3 separate regions of the Homo sapiens genome follow, and all the other regions are linked to region 3. Evidence: promoter capture Hi-C in 16 types of primary human blood cells and fetal thymus (Javierre and others, 2016). All regions are on one chromosome and are shown on one strand. Each heading gives the region's core, a stretch centred on a gene start or on the middle of the fragment in contact. The rest is flanking DNA. Distances are from core to core; before and after follow the strand shown. Region 1 has its middle 66 kb from the start of PAGE1. Region 2 overlaps ZNF630 (zinc finger protein 630). Region 3 holds the start of GRIPAP1 (GRIP1 associated protein 1).

Region 1 (2,700 bases), core at 27-2,526, 760 kb before region 3:
AGGGCTGAGGCAGGAGAATCACTTCAACCCGGGAGGCGGAGGTTTCAGTGAGCCAAGATCACACCACTGCACTCCAGCCTGGGTGACAGAGTGAGACTCCGTCTCAAAACAAACAAGAAAATAAAAAAACCCCACACTGGCCCCCTCATGGCACTCTTGCTTCAAATCTTTCAACCTTTTCTGTTTGGCTTTTGGAGCCTTCCACTGTCTGGCTTTTTCCTCTCTCTAAATCCTATCAATTGTGACATATCCAGTTCAATTTCTACCCCACTTTAAGGCCTTTTCAAGCTTTTGTTGGACTTATCTATGAATTCATATGATACTTAGCATCAATGCCATAATTGCTGCCTTGCTCTTGCTCACCTTAAACAGAATAGTAAACACCCCCATGCTAGATCTTGAAGATTTTTACAGATAGGGACAATGTCCTATAAGCCTATATACCCTTCTACCAGTCAGTACAGAACTGAGCACACAGAAAACAAGCAATATAGATTTCATTGATTGAGTAATTGGTTGTTTTTCCCTCTCTGGCCTCGGTGATTTCATATGTAAAATGACAGGACTGTGACAAGGACTGGAAGATCTTCCTCCAGCCTTGAGGCTCGATGGAGCTGTGATTAAAAGCCCCAAACTTTTATCAGAAAAAGATAATAAATTTTAGCCACTGGTGAAAATTGAAAGGATCATGTTCTGAGCTGCAACGTTGTTGATTTCATAATATTTCCCATCCCTCTGGAAACTCCAGAAAACTAAGTTACTATTCCCCCTTCCACCGAAAGTAAGAAAAATCAGAACCACTGAGATGAAACATCACACCACCCAGTTGGGAAGGTAACCTCAGGAAGTTTCTCCAGAATTCAGTACAAACATTTCAGATTTAATACTTTGCTAATGGGACATTATTGTGTTTCACACAATGAGTGGTGTAATGATGAATTACAGCTGCGGGACTGACTGCCCTCTGCTCAAACCCTTTCAGAAGGAGTACTGTGGGGCCTCCTTCTGGTCACAATGTAGGATATTGGAATTCATTCCTAGAGTTTGAGGACACCTGTTGAGACAGAGAGAAAGAGAGAGAGAGAGACAGAGAGAGGAGGAGAGAGAAAGAGAGAGAAGGAAAGAGAGAGAAACAGAGAGACAGAAGGAGAGAGAAAAACAGGAGAGAGAGAAAGAAAAAGAAAGAAAGGAAAAGAAAGAAAGAAAAGAAATGGAAAGAAAGAAGAGAAAGAGGAATGGAGGCAGACACCTTCCATCTGCAGTGCCCCAAGCGCTTATCATTGGTTTGGACACAGAGCAAGCATAAGTGTTTATTAAGACTTGGCCACTGAGGGCAGAGAGAAGTGAACTGGAGATGGGAATGGAGGGCAAGATGCAGGAGGTGCAGCAGGGCAAAGAAAATTAACTTCTCCCTTTCTTAAATTTAGCCCCAAGAGGGCTCCACTAACTTAAACCTATTTCAGTCTTATGAGAAATTTCTATTTCATTCTAATCATGACAGACCACTATACAAACTCAAATTGAGGGACTGCCTACAAAACACCTGACCACTAAAATGTCAAGGTCATGGAAAACAAGAAAAGACCGAGGAGCTGTCACAGACTGGAGACATGATGTGACTAAGATGATAAATACCATGGGGAATCCTGAATGGATCCTGGAAAAACTGATGAAATCTGAATAACTTTTATAGTTTGGTTAATAATATTGTATCAAGATTAATGCGTCACATTTGATAAATATTTTCTGGTTATATAAGATAAGGTTTCCTTCTAGACCCTCTCTTTCCTGTCAGCTTCTACATTCCTCTGAGAGCTCAACAGTGACTCTTAGAGGCCTCTAGCCGCAATAACAGCAAATCAGTTCAGCAATCTGAAAGAATGAGCCATTTGGACCTGCATTTTCCAAATTATTGAAACAAACTCTTTTGGCAGGCACTATTTTTAGAAAAGTAGTATTCATTTCTCTGCCATCTTATAAAGAGCATGGAAATCACCACTTAATTCTTCATTGTCCATACCTATTAGTATAAACATCTGCTTTTGGGCCAAGTGCAATGTCTCACACCTGCAATCCCAGCACTTTGGGAGGCTGAGGTGGAGGATCACTTAAGACCAGAAGTTCATCCTCAGATGCCCATCCAGAGAAGGGGAGCTGGTGCTATTCAATGGGCTCCAGATGGAAATGTGCCTGAGCTGCAGACTTCAGGGGAATACTTGAATAAGTTCAGTGAATTTTTGTCCTTCTCTTCATAGAAAGCTTGACTTGCTTTGTCATGTTTCCACGTGTAACCAAAGCCAGATGAAGAAATACAGACACTCTACCATACAAACTCTGTAACCTACACATCCAAATTGAGTAAAACCAAAGACTGCAGCTGGGGCCGCCAAGAAGCTGCAGGAAGAAGTAAGCAAGCAGGACCTCAGCAGGCAAATTTACTGGGGTCAGGAGCACAGGCTTGAGATAGGGCATCCCCAGCCCCCACCCCACTAAAAGACACCAGGTCCAGGAGATCTTAGGGCTATGCTTCTCAGCACCACGTGGTTGGCTCAACTCCTTTGCCCTGGCTGCAATGCCACCACATTACTGGCCCACATCCATGTGACGCTAAGGCAGAAAGATGGAATGTAAAGGGTATGGGATTTGGATACAGACAGACCTGGATTTGCGTTTTAACTCTTCCATGTATGCGCTGCTGCG
Region 2 (2,700 bases), core at 25-2,524, 940 kb after region 3:
AAGCTTGTTTTATCTATCTTTCATCCCCACCTACTCCTATCGTCATCATCATCATGATCTAGCCAATCCCTTGTTAATATTTTGTTTAGGGTTTATACTACTGTGTTCATAAGACATAAGGGCCTGTAATTTTACTTTCTTCTATTGTTTCTGTCACCTTTTGGTATCATGTTACATTGGCCTCATGTTGGAAAGTATTCTCTTTATATTCTCTGGGAAAATTTGGGTAATATTGGTACTATTTCCATCTTAAATTTTTTTTTTTTTTGAGATGGAGTTTCACTCTTGTCGCCCAGGCTGGAGTGCAATGGCACGATATCCGCTCATTGCAACCTCTGCCTCCCAGGTTCAAGCGATTCTCCTGCCTCAGTCTCCCAAGTAGCTGGGATTACAAGTGCCCGCCACCAAGTAGCTGGGATTACAAGTGCCTGCCTGCCTTCCTTCCTTCCTTCCTCCCTCCCTCCCTCCCTCCCTCTCTCTCTCTCTCTCTCTCTCTTTCTTTCTTTCTTTTTTTTTGAGACCGGGTTTCACCCCAGTTGCCCAGGCTAGAGTGCAGTGGCACTATCTTGCCTCACTGCAGCCTTGACCTCCCAGGCTAACTTTTGTATTTTTAGTAGAGATGGGGTTTCACCATGTTGGGCAGGCTGGTCTCGAATTCCTGGCCTCAGGTGATCCACCCACCTCGGCCTCCCAAAGTGTTGGGATTACAGGCATGAGCCACTGCGCCCGGCCTATTTCCTTCTTAAATGTTTGAAAGAGCTCCCCAGTGAAGCCATCAGGGTATGGAGTTTTCTTTGTGGGAAGGTTTTAAATTACATATTCAATTTATTTAAAAGATATACTACCATTCAGATTTTCTATTTCTTTTTATGTCTGGTTTGGTAAATTGTAATTTTCAAGTAATTTGTCCAGTTCCTCTAAGTCAGGGGTCAGCAAACTTTTTCTGTAGAGGGACAGATCGAAGTATCTGAGGCTTTGTGGGCCATACGGCCCCTGTTGCAACTATTCAAATCTGCTGTTTTAGGTAGAAAGCAGCTATTGACAATATGTAAACCAATGAGCCTGGCTGTGATTCAATAACACTTTATTTATGGATGCTGAAGGTTGGATTTCATATAATTTTCATGTGTCATAAAATATTCTTCTTTTGACTTTTTTTTCAATCATTAAAAATGTAAAAACCAGACCAGATACAGCTAGCTATTCACGCCTATAATCCCAGCACTTTGGGAGGCCAAGGTGGGCGGATTGCTTGAGCTCAGGAGTTCTAGACCAGCCTGGGCAGCATGGCGAAACCGCATCTCTACAAAAAAATACAAAAATTAACCAGGCATGGTGGCATGCGCCTGTGGTCCCAGCTACTCAGGAGGCTGATGTAGGAGAATCACTTGAGCCCGGGAGGAGGAGGTTGCAGTGAATCAAGACTGTTCCACTGTACTCCAGCTTGGCTGATAGAGCAAGACTGTCTCAAAAGAAAACGTGTAAAACCAGTTTAGCTTGTGGGCCATTGAAAAACACATGATGGGCTAAATTTGGCCTGCAGGCTATAGTTTGCTATGTCCTGATCTACATTGTCTACTGATGTACATTGTCAAATTAATGTCCATTAAATGTCCATTTAATGTTTGCAGGATACCAGAACCTTGTTGATGGGCTGTAAAAAAGTTATTTCTAGTTTTTCTTTTATATACAGTAGTAATAATAATAAGAAGAATCATAGCTACTATTTACTCAGTGCTTATCATGTGCCAGGCACTGCTATTATAAAATATCGTGGGATTAACTTATTTAATTCACCCAGGAACCCTCTGTGCTAGGTACCATTGTTATTCCCATTTTTCAGATGAAGAAAATGAGGCACAGAGATCACACAGCTAGTACATGACCTAACCAGACCTCTCAAGCAGTGAAGTCACAAATAAAACAACCATATAAAGATATCTTTTTATATTTGTGAAGTATTTGTGTAGGCCACATTCTCAGACATGAGTGTGCTAGGTCAGAGGCACACAGACTTATAAATTTAAAGAGTATTTTTCAAATCGTATATATATATATTTTTTTGAGACAAAGTCTCACTCTGTCCCCCAGGTTGGAGTGCAGTGGCATGATCTCAGCTCACTGTAACCTCCGCCTCCCAGGTTCAAGCGATTCTCATGCCTCAGCCTCCGGAGTAGCAGGGATTACAAGTGCCTGCCACCACGCCCGGCTAATTTTTGTATTTTTAGTAGAGACTGGGTTTCACCATGTTGGGCAGGCTGGTCTCGAACTCCTGACCTCAAGTGATCTGCCCACCTTGGCCTCCCAAAGTGCTGGGATTACAGGCATGAGCCACCCTGCCCAGCCCAAATTGTATTTCAATACTGTGTAATCAGCTGAACATGTGGCCACAAATTGTTTACAAGAAAGCCCACCTGTTTCCCAAGGTTCCCCCTCCCTCCTGCCACCATTAGCCATCATCTGTTTTTTTCATTCTTGTTGTTTTTATGATTAAGCATTATATCTCATTTTCATTTGCTTTTCTATAGGGATTAAATAAGCTTCAGCATCTTTTCACATATTTATTTTCCATATTGTATTTCTCTGTGAATCCCTCTTTCCTTGTCTTTGCTTATGGTTTCCCAGGAGCTTTTTGTATATGAGTGATTTTGAAGTGCACATTGCAAACTTTTTTTTTTTTTTTTTTGGCCAGGTAGTGAT
Region 3 (2,700 bases), core at 76-2,575:
TGCGATCTCGGCTCACCGCAACCTCTGCCTGGCGGGTTCAAGCGATTCTCGTGCCTCAGCCTTCCGAGTAGCTGGGATTACAGGCGCCCACCACCACACCCGGCCAATTTTTGTGTTTTTAGTAGAGATGGGGTTTCACCATGTTGGCCAGGTTAGTCTCGAACTCCTGACCGCAAGTGAACAGCCCTCCTTGGCCTCCCAAAGTGCTGGGATTACAGGCGTGAGCCACCGCGCCCGGCCCTGCTGGAAATATTTTTCCACAGCAGGGAAATCATTAAATTCTACGAAAATAAGAAGGCTGGGCGCGGTGGCTCACGCCTTAATCCCAGCACTCTGGGAGGCCGAGGCGGGCGGACTACCTGAGGTCGGGAGTTCGAGACCGGCCTGACCAATATGGAGAAACCCCGTCTCTACTAAAAAAAAAAAAAAAAATTACCCGGACGAGGTGGCGGGCGCCTGTAATCCCAGCTACTCGGGAGGCTGAGGCAGGAGAATCGCTTGAACTCGCCAAGCGGAGGTTGCTGTGATCGGATATCGTGCCACTGCACTCCAGCCTGGGCAACAAAAGTGAAACTCCGTCTCAAAAAAGAAAAACAACAACAACAACAACAACAAAAACAGAAAGAAAAAAGAAAATAAGAAAAAAACTACACTGAGATACCATTTCTTACTCTCAGATCGGTGAGGGTTATAGTGAATTCTAATACTTGAATGAGCCTGGTGTTTCACCACCCTGGTTTGTTTTTTGTTTTTGTTTTGTTTTAATGTAGCTTTTTCGTTTGATTCACTGTCACTCTTTCCACTCTGCTATTTTTATTGGTGGCTAAGTCCTTTACCTAACGTGACATGCAGTATCATGATAACAAAATAAGTGTCAAACCTTAAAAAAAAAAAAAAAAAAAAAGGCCAAAGGCTTTACAAGAGGTGGGATTCCCCTTTGGGGTCTCCCGGAGGAGGGGCGGGAACAAGACCAGAGCGAAGCTTCCGCTTTCATTTCTATGGTTATTAAGTTACCCATTCTCATTAAAGGAATACCGCGGAAGGGTGATTTTCTGTCGGCAAAGACTTCCCTAGCGACGAGTCCACCCATGAAACGGGGATGTAATAATGTCGTATCACAATGGGTGGCCTAGAAGAGTCCAAAAGCCAATCAGATGACTTACATTCGGGTAGAACGTTGTATTACAGTTCACCTGACTCGTCGGTTTCGTTCTCTTCTCTGCGTCTCCAAAATGCTGCCCTTCGGAATTAGGTTCTACCCCCTCCATTCCTGGCCAGTGGTTTGGTCCGACCTTAATACTGCCAGGAGGCGCGAGCTGCGTCTGCGCAGAAAGCTGGCGGGGGGGTGGGGGGAGGAACATGGCGCAAGCTCTGTCTGAGGAGGAGTTTCAGCGGATGCAGGTGCCGCTCGCGGTGGGAAAGACCACCCGGCTAGGCGACCGGGGGCGGGGTAGCGAGAGGTCGTGCTATCAGCTCTGAGAAGGGGTTGGTTGGGATGGACCCTGAGTTTATGGGGTGGGTCTGGAGAAGGGAAACTGAGGCTCGGAGTGGTGAGACTATTGGATTCCGAGATACTCTGCGGCTTTGAAGGTTGGACTCTGTTAGCATTGTGGGCTGGGAGAGCGCCATTAAGTAGGCGGTACCTTACTCAGACCTGGAGGGGACGAGACTTTTGGGCCCGTGCAGGGGACACCGTCGGCGGGTGATGATAATGGGCTTTGAGGGAAGGAGATCCTGAGAAGGCGAAACCATTTTGTCTGGAGAGGAAGGAAGCGGGTGTTGGGTCGTTTGCGTCATGGTGGTGGGAGCCCTTGAGAGGGCAGAACCATTAGCGGGTGGGAGGTGGTAAGTTTTGGGGGAGATACCACTGTGCCCGGGGATTGGGGAAAGACCCCAGATGTTGTCATTGTTCCTGGGAGGTGGAGATCCTGTGCCATTGGTGGTTGGTAGTGCATCCTAAGAGGGGGCGGCACCATTGGATGATTAAGGGTGATCCCATTAGGCCTGGGGTGAAGAAGGCCATGAATGGGTAATACCATTAATCCCATTAACTGGGGGGAGGACCAGAGGGGTAAAAGATTGATACCTTGGACTACAAGGAGGGAAGATCACTGGGCTTTGGGGAGGTACCCCCACTTGATTCTTTTGGGGGGACTCTGAGATGCAATGAAAGGCCATAGCATTGCACTATGAATGGGCCCTTGTTGAGAGGGTTCCTCACTGGGGGGGGGGTCTGAACAGGGTCCTGCATGGGGAGGGGAGGAACTCTGAGGGAGGACAGGTAATCCAATTGGTCCTTGAATGAGGGAAACCAGCTGTCCCTGTGTGAGGGACACTGAGAATGGAAGGGCGAGTTGATTAACCCATGAATGGGGAAGACCACTGTCATCTGAAAGGGATTCTAAGTGAGTAAGAGTCATCCAACTGGCCTACCCAAGGCCTTGTAGAGGCCTACCCTGAAGGGTGTAGGGCCATTCCCAATGGATCATGACTGGGGAGATCTTGAGGGGAGTGGGAATACCCTTGAATGAGGAACATTGATCCCACTGGGCCATGAATGAGGGAGAACTACTGGGCTTTGTTGGGGGGCAAGTCTCGGGGGGTACAAAGGATATTCCACTTGGACCAGTACTTGGAGAGACAGATCACTGGGTCCTGGAGAGGACAGGAGTAGGAAAGATTCTGTGAAGGCCAAGCCCT

Evidence for each region. The method cuts DNA at HindIII sites, captures the fragments that hold promoters and counts their contacts. A CHiCAGO score of 5 or more calls a contact.
Region 1: a fragment that was not itself captured here is called in contact with the fragment with the promoter of GRIPAP1 in region 3 in 1 of 17 cell types (naive CD4 T cells); the score reaches 5.0 in naive CD4 T cells.
Region 2: a fragment that was not itself captured here is called in contact with the fragment with the promoter of GRIPAP1 in region 3 in 1 of 17 cell types (total B cells); the score reaches 5.5 in total B cells.

What each region holds. Positions count from the first base shown.
Region 1 is chrX:49,760,806-49,763,505 of GRCh38, reverse strand. No RefSeq gene overlaps it. Among named protein-coding and RNA genes, the nearest start is that of PAGE1, 66 kb to the right of the region's middle. The HindIII fragment of the contact is 1,971 bases long and covers 291-2,261 here.
Region 2 is chrX:48,063,252-48,065,951 of GRCh38, reverse strand. All of the region lies in intron 2 of ZNF630 (zinc finger protein 630), which reads left to right. All of the region lies in intron 1 of ZNF630-AS1 (ZNF630 antisense RNA 1), which reads right to left. Among named protein-coding and RNA genes, the nearest start is that of ZNF630, 7.0 kb to the left of the region's middle. The HindIII fragment of the contact is 2,537 bases long and covers 6-2,542 here.
Region 3 is chrX:49,000,889-49,003,588 of GRCh38, reverse strand. GRIPAP1 (GRIP1 associated protein 1) reads left to right here and starts at 1,325. Exons shown (of 26, transcript NM_020137.5): 1 at 1,325-1,401. The coding sequence starts at 1,360. RefSeq lists an enhancer at 1,207-1,316. The HindIII fragment of the contact is 9,873 bases long and covers 984-2,700 here.